Linked DNA regions of Homo sapiens: region 2 is linked to region 1. Evidence: promoter capture Hi-C in 16 types of primary human blood cells and fetal thymus (Javierre and others, 2016). All regions are on one chromosome and are shown on one strand. The core of a region is centred on a gene start or on the middle of the fragment in contact, and the rest is flanking DNA. Distances in the headings are between cores, read along the strand shown. Region 1 holds the start of HEATR6 (HEAT repeat containing 6). Region 2 overlaps RPS6KB1 (ribosomal protein S6 kinase B1).

Region 1 (2,799 bases), core at 224-2,723:
ACAAATACAGCAAAAGTCCCCGACTACTGCCTTAATCTCACTCTGCTTCCTAATGACATACACTATTATTCTGTAGTCAATTCTTTCAGACCTTTTACTTTGCATATATAAACACACATATTTTAAAATCCCTCCTCCAGCTTCATACTGATCTCATTCTGTATGAATTGTCCTGCAACTTGCTTCAACCATTTACCAATACGTATTGAAGACTTTTCCAAAGCAGATTTTAAAGTTTATGAACAATTTTTTTTCCTCCTAAAGAAAAGATCATTCTGGCATTGGAGGAATGACTGGCTTGGAGAGGAGCTAGACAGGAGGCAGGAGATCAGTCAGAGGGGATCAGCGAACAGTCCAGGCATAAGTCGCCTTGCCTGAGGTCTAAGGCACTCGCTATGGGAATAGACAGGAGGGGATGAACTGAGAAATATATATGAGACACATTCTGAAATACCTGAGTTGGTCAGGATCTGGGATGAAGGAGGGAAGAACCAGTGTTTGTGTCTGGTGTGACTTGGTGGATGATGCATGTGTGTTGGAAGGTGGGATGGACTGGGGACGGGAATGCGTGTTTGGAGCTAATGAATTTCATCTTTAGGAACTGTCTAGTTTGAGATGCCTGTGCAAGCAGGCAACTTGCACCACTTCCCTCTTTCCTACGTAGGGCCAGAAGGCCATGGTGTCAACAGTTCAGAGAATTCATTAATTTAAGGCCTGATGTGTGTAAGATTACTCAGAAAGACGGCAGAGGGGAGGAGCTAGTGTGTAGGAACAGAAAACATAGGGGCTTTGTGGCAGAGTTTTGTATACTGTATTTTTACGAGCTTCAGTATTTTCATTAGCAAACAAGCCCTAATACTACGCAAGTTCTAAGATTCCCACGTGGTCCGTGTACCATGTACGCAATAAACAGTAGTAATGCATTTTGTCAACCAAGTGTTCTGGGTGCACAGAGAGGGAGTGAAGGAGGGTGCGGGCGGATGGAAAGTTGGTATCAGAGAGGAAACCCGAGGCATTATCAGAGCAGGAGTCGTCAAGTTGGGTTTTGAATGACTCGAGCGTGCCAAGCACTGCAGGGTCTTCCAAATGGAGAACTAAGAATGTGCCAAGGTTGGAGGGGGCACGCCATCCTGAAACTAAATCATCAGGCGCGAGAGTGGGAAGATCAGGGAAAGGCAGGCAGAGGCCACCAGCTGGGTTCCCGGAGGGGTGGGGCCGGGGCCGGGGCCAGCAGGGCGCGCCGCCTACCTCCGGGGCCACGCCACTGCCCTCGCTGTAGTTCTCGGAGATGAGCTGATCGAAGAGCAGGTGGATCTCGGTGCGGGCGGAGCTGCTGTCATCCGGGCGCAGGGCGCAGAGCCTGGCAGACAAGAGGCGAAACCCATTGCCTCGCTCAGGGATTGCTTCCCGCGGTGCCTCCCGCGGCTGCACGGAAGGCCACGAACCGACAACTTGCACAGCAGCCATCTTTTCTACGGGCGGGGGGGGTGGGTGGGGTGATCCCAGGGAAATACTTCCGGGACATCCTCCCGTTCCGCGCGCTCTAGTTCCGAAAGTACCTTTTTTAGACCGGACTGGGGCTCAGAGGGGTTTCCATGACTACGGGACTCCTCCGACCGGTACCCTGCAGATGCTTGTCAGAAATTGGCTTGGAGGCCGGGCTCGGTGGCTGACGCCTGTAATCCCAGCACTTTGGGAGGCCGAGGCGGGCGGATCACGAGGTCAGAAGATCGAGACCATCCTAGCTAACACGGTGAAACCCCGTCTCTACTAAAAATACAAAAAAAAAAAAAAAAAAAAAATTAGCCGGGAGTGGTGGCGGGCGCCTGTTGTCCCAGCTACTCGGGAGGCTGAGGCAGGAGAATGGCGTGAACCCGGGAGGCAGGGCTTGCAATGAGCCAAGATCGCGCCACTGCACTCCAGCCTGGGCGACAGAGCGAGACTCCGTCTCAGAAAAAAAAAAAAAGAAAGAAATTGGCTTGGAGATTTTTCGCCGGCCACTCCTTCTTGAGCCCTGACTGAAAAGTGAGTTCTCAATTTGTGCTTCCAGAAAGTTTGTCCTCCCAGAGTTTGTTCCTGGACAGGGCTGAAGGTACTCTGTTCCGTACTAGAGTTTCAGATTCGGGCTGGAGTTGGAGAGGGTATGCTGTGGATGGCAGTAGCAGAAACCGCTAGTTCTAAGGCACCCTTCTACTCTTCTAAAATCTTTCCCCAGGCACAAAACCACCCGGAATAAAGGCTACGTTCCCTAGCATTCCTTGCAGTTGGCTGTGGCTCTGTGATTGCAATCTGGTCAGTGGAATATAAGGCAGCTTTCCCTACTTAAGTGACAGCTGGCTGTACTCTTGGTTCCTTTTTCTCCCTTTTTCCCAGTGTGAATCCTCTCATGGATCATGAGGCACCTCGCCCCACTAGAAGAGTAATTTTGGAGTTTAACTGAATCATGTAAAATATAATCTGCCTAAGAGTGACCGGGTTGAAATGAGACACCCCAAGATTTTCTGAAACCTTGAAGTCAAGAAGCTGGAGAATAAAATGGCCATTTAAAAATCTGTGATCACTTTTCAGTCATCCAGGAAGTGAAGGCTTGACTTTCACAGTTGGGCAGATTGGGAAAACCATCTCTAGGGCCTTTGAGTTATGCAAATATAAAGCAAATCCTCACCCTTGGCCCTTAGGGAAAACCTTGAAGTCACCTGAATGTATGTTTTATCCTGAGAACAAAACATTTCTGTTCAGCAGTGAAAATTGGGGGTATGCTTTAGCAGAGGTAGTTTTCTGAAGACTTTGGGCTTGGGG
Region 2 (2,700 bases), core at 129-2,628, 160 kb before region 1:
GATGTGTGTTGCTTTGACTTTGATTATTATTTTTATTTAGTTAGTTTTTGAGATAGGGTCTCGCCCTGTCACCTAGACAGGAGTGCGGTGACACAATTATAGCTCAGTGCAACCTCAAATTCCTGGGCTCAAGCTATCCTCCCACCTCAGTCTCCTGAGTAGCTGGGACCACAGACACGCACCACCAGGCCTGGCTAATAAAAAAAAATGTAGAGATGGGCACTCACCATGTTGCCCAGGCTGGTGTTGAACTCCTGGGCTCAAGTGATCCACCCGCCTCGGCCACCCAAAGTGCTGGGATTGGATTACAGGTATGGCCCACTGCGCCCGGCCTATTTAATTAAATTAATTAATTTATTTATTTTTAAGAGACAGGGTCTCACTCTGTTTCCCAGGCTGGAGTGTGGTGGTGTGATCATACTTCACTGTAACCTGTAACTCCTGGGCTCAAGCGATCCTCCTGCCACAACTTCTGAGTAGCTAGGACTGCAGATGCATGCCACCACGCCCAGTTCATTTTTAAAATGTTTCGTAGAGACAAGGTCTTCCTGTGTTTCCCCGGCTGGCCTGGAACTCCTGGCCTCAAGCAGTTGTTCTGTTTTGGCTCCCAAAGTGTTGGGATTACAGGCATGTGCCACTGTGCCCAGCCTATTTTTATTCTTTTAATCTTAAAGCTTTAGTCTTTCAGTTCTAGGAAATTTTCTTATGTGATTTATTTGGTAATTTCCTTCCCACTGTTTTCTCTTCTTGGAATTGCAATTAGTTGGATGTTGGATCTCCTGGACCGATCATCTAATTTTTCTTATCTTTTCCACGTTTCCATTTCTTTGTCTTGTTTACTTTCTTCTACTCAATTTTTTTTTGAGATGGAGTTTTGCTCTTGTTGCCCAGGCTGGAGTGCAATGGCGCAATCTTGGCTCACCGCAACCTCCGCCTCCTGGGTTCAAGCGATTCCCCTGCCTCAGCCTCCCGAGTAGCTGGGATTACAGGCATGTGCCACCATGCCCGGCTAATTTTGTATTTTTAGAAGAGACAGGGTTCCTCCATGTTGGTCAGGCTGGTTTCGAACTCCTGACTTAGGTGATCCGCCCGCCTTGGCCTCCTGAAGTGCTGGGATTACAGGCGTAAGCCACTGTGCCCAGCCATTTGACTAAATTTTTTTTTAAAGCTGTTGTATTTGTGATTCTCCAGAATTCTTTCTGTTGTTTTTGTTTTATAGCAACCTGTTTAATGAGTATAATATCTTCTCTTACCCCTCTGAGAGTTTTATTTTTTTTTAATGTTTATTATTATTTTTTTGAGACAAGAGTCTCACTCTGTCGTGCAGGTTTGAGTGCAGTGGTGCGATCTTGGCTCACTGCAACCCCTGCCTCCTGCGTTCAAGCGATTCTCCTGCCTCAGCCTCCTGAGTAGCTGGGATTACAGGTGCCCGCTACCACACCTGGCTAATTTTTGTATTTTTAGCAGATATCGGGTTTCATCATGTTGGCCAGACTGGTCTTGAACTCCTGACCTCAGGCAAAACGTCCACCTCGGCATCCCAAAGTGCTGGGATTACAGGTGTGAGCCACCACGCCCAGCCTCTCTGAGAGTTTAATTATAATTATTTGAAATGTTCTTTTGTTTTACGCATGTTCTTTTTTGACTTTCTGTTTTCTTTGACTTTGATTTAGTCAGTTTTAGTCACTTTGTTCCATGTTAGAGGCCTTCTTTAGATGTCTGGTGTCATTCACTGATTATTCTTTTTTTTTTTTTTTTTTTTGAGTTGGAGTCTTGCTCTGTCGTCTAGGCTGGAGTGCAGTGGCACAGTCTCGGCTCACTGCAATTTCCACCTCCTGGGTTCAAGCGATTCTTGTGCCTCAGCCACCCAAGTAGCTGGGATAACAGGCATGTGCCACCCTGCCTGGCTAATTTTTGCATTTTTAGTAGTGACAGGGTTTCGCCATGTTGTCAGCCTGATCTCGAACTCCTGACCTCAAGTGATCTGTCCACCTAGGCCTCAATAACCCATCCACTGCGCCTGGCCTGATTATTCATATTTAAGAGTAGAACTCTGAAAAGCTGATCAGAAGTTCTGTGTGTGTAAGCTTCTCTGCAGGGTAGTCAAGTGGTTAGCTGGCACTTGATCAACAACTTCAAATAATAGTGTCTGTAGGGCTGGGTGTGGTGGCTCACGCCTGTAATCCCAGCACTTTCGGAGGCTGAGGCAGGTTGATCACCTGAGGTCAGGAGTTCAAAACCAGCCTGGCCAGCTGGTTTGGGGGCGCTGAGGCAGGAGAATCGCTTGAGCCTGGGAGGTGGAGGTTGCAGTGAGCCAAGATTGCACCATTGTGCTCTAGCTTGGACAACAAGAGCGAGACTCCATCTCAAATAAATAAATAAGTAAATATTGTCTGTAGATCTTTTTTTTTCTGGGGAGGATCAGTTGGTGCTAAGAAAGTTCTGCCATTCATTTGCCTGGAAAAAGCATTCTGGAGCTGAGTGAGAGAAGATGGAGATCTTACCTCTCAACACGCGGACTTTCACTAAACTCGAGTTTTTACATTAGTACTTTACTCTGTGGATCTAATCTTTCACTTTTTTTTTTTGTCCCGGGGAATTTAACTCTCCTAGGGTTAGTTCTTCGACTTAGTATGGAGATGGGAGCCTTTTTGGTCTGTCTGTTCCTTACACAGACTTGTAGATGATCTCCCTGTTTTT

Evidence for each region. The method cuts DNA at HindIII sites, captures the fragments that hold promoters and counts their contacts. A CHiCAGO score of 5 or more calls a contact.
Region 2: a contact is called between a fragment that was not itself captured here and the fragment with the promoter of HEATR6 in region 1, in 1 of 17 cell types (M1 macrophages). The highest score is 5.6, in M1 macrophages.

Annotation. Positions count from the first base shown.
Region 1 is chr17:60,077,448-60,080,246 of GRCh38, forward strand. HEATR6 (HEAT repeat containing 6) reads right to left here and starts at 1,474. Exons shown (of 20, transcript NM_022070.5): 1 at 1,249-1,474. The coding sequence starts at 1,467. It overlaps HEATR6-DT (HEATR6 divergent transcript), which reads left to right and starts at 1,862. Exons shown (of 2, transcript NR_135648.1): 1 at 1,862-2,025. RefSeq lists a silencer at 1,131-1,260. The HindIII fragment of the contact is 13,067 bases long and covers 1-2,799 here.
Region 2 is chr17:59,917,088-59,919,787 of GRCh38, forward strand. All of the region lies in intron 4 of RPS6KB1 (ribosomal protein S6 kinase B1), which reads left to right. Among named protein-coding and RNA genes, the nearest start is that of RPS6KB1, 25 kb to the left of the region's middle. The HindIII fragment of the contact is 1,413 bases long and covers 673-2,085 here.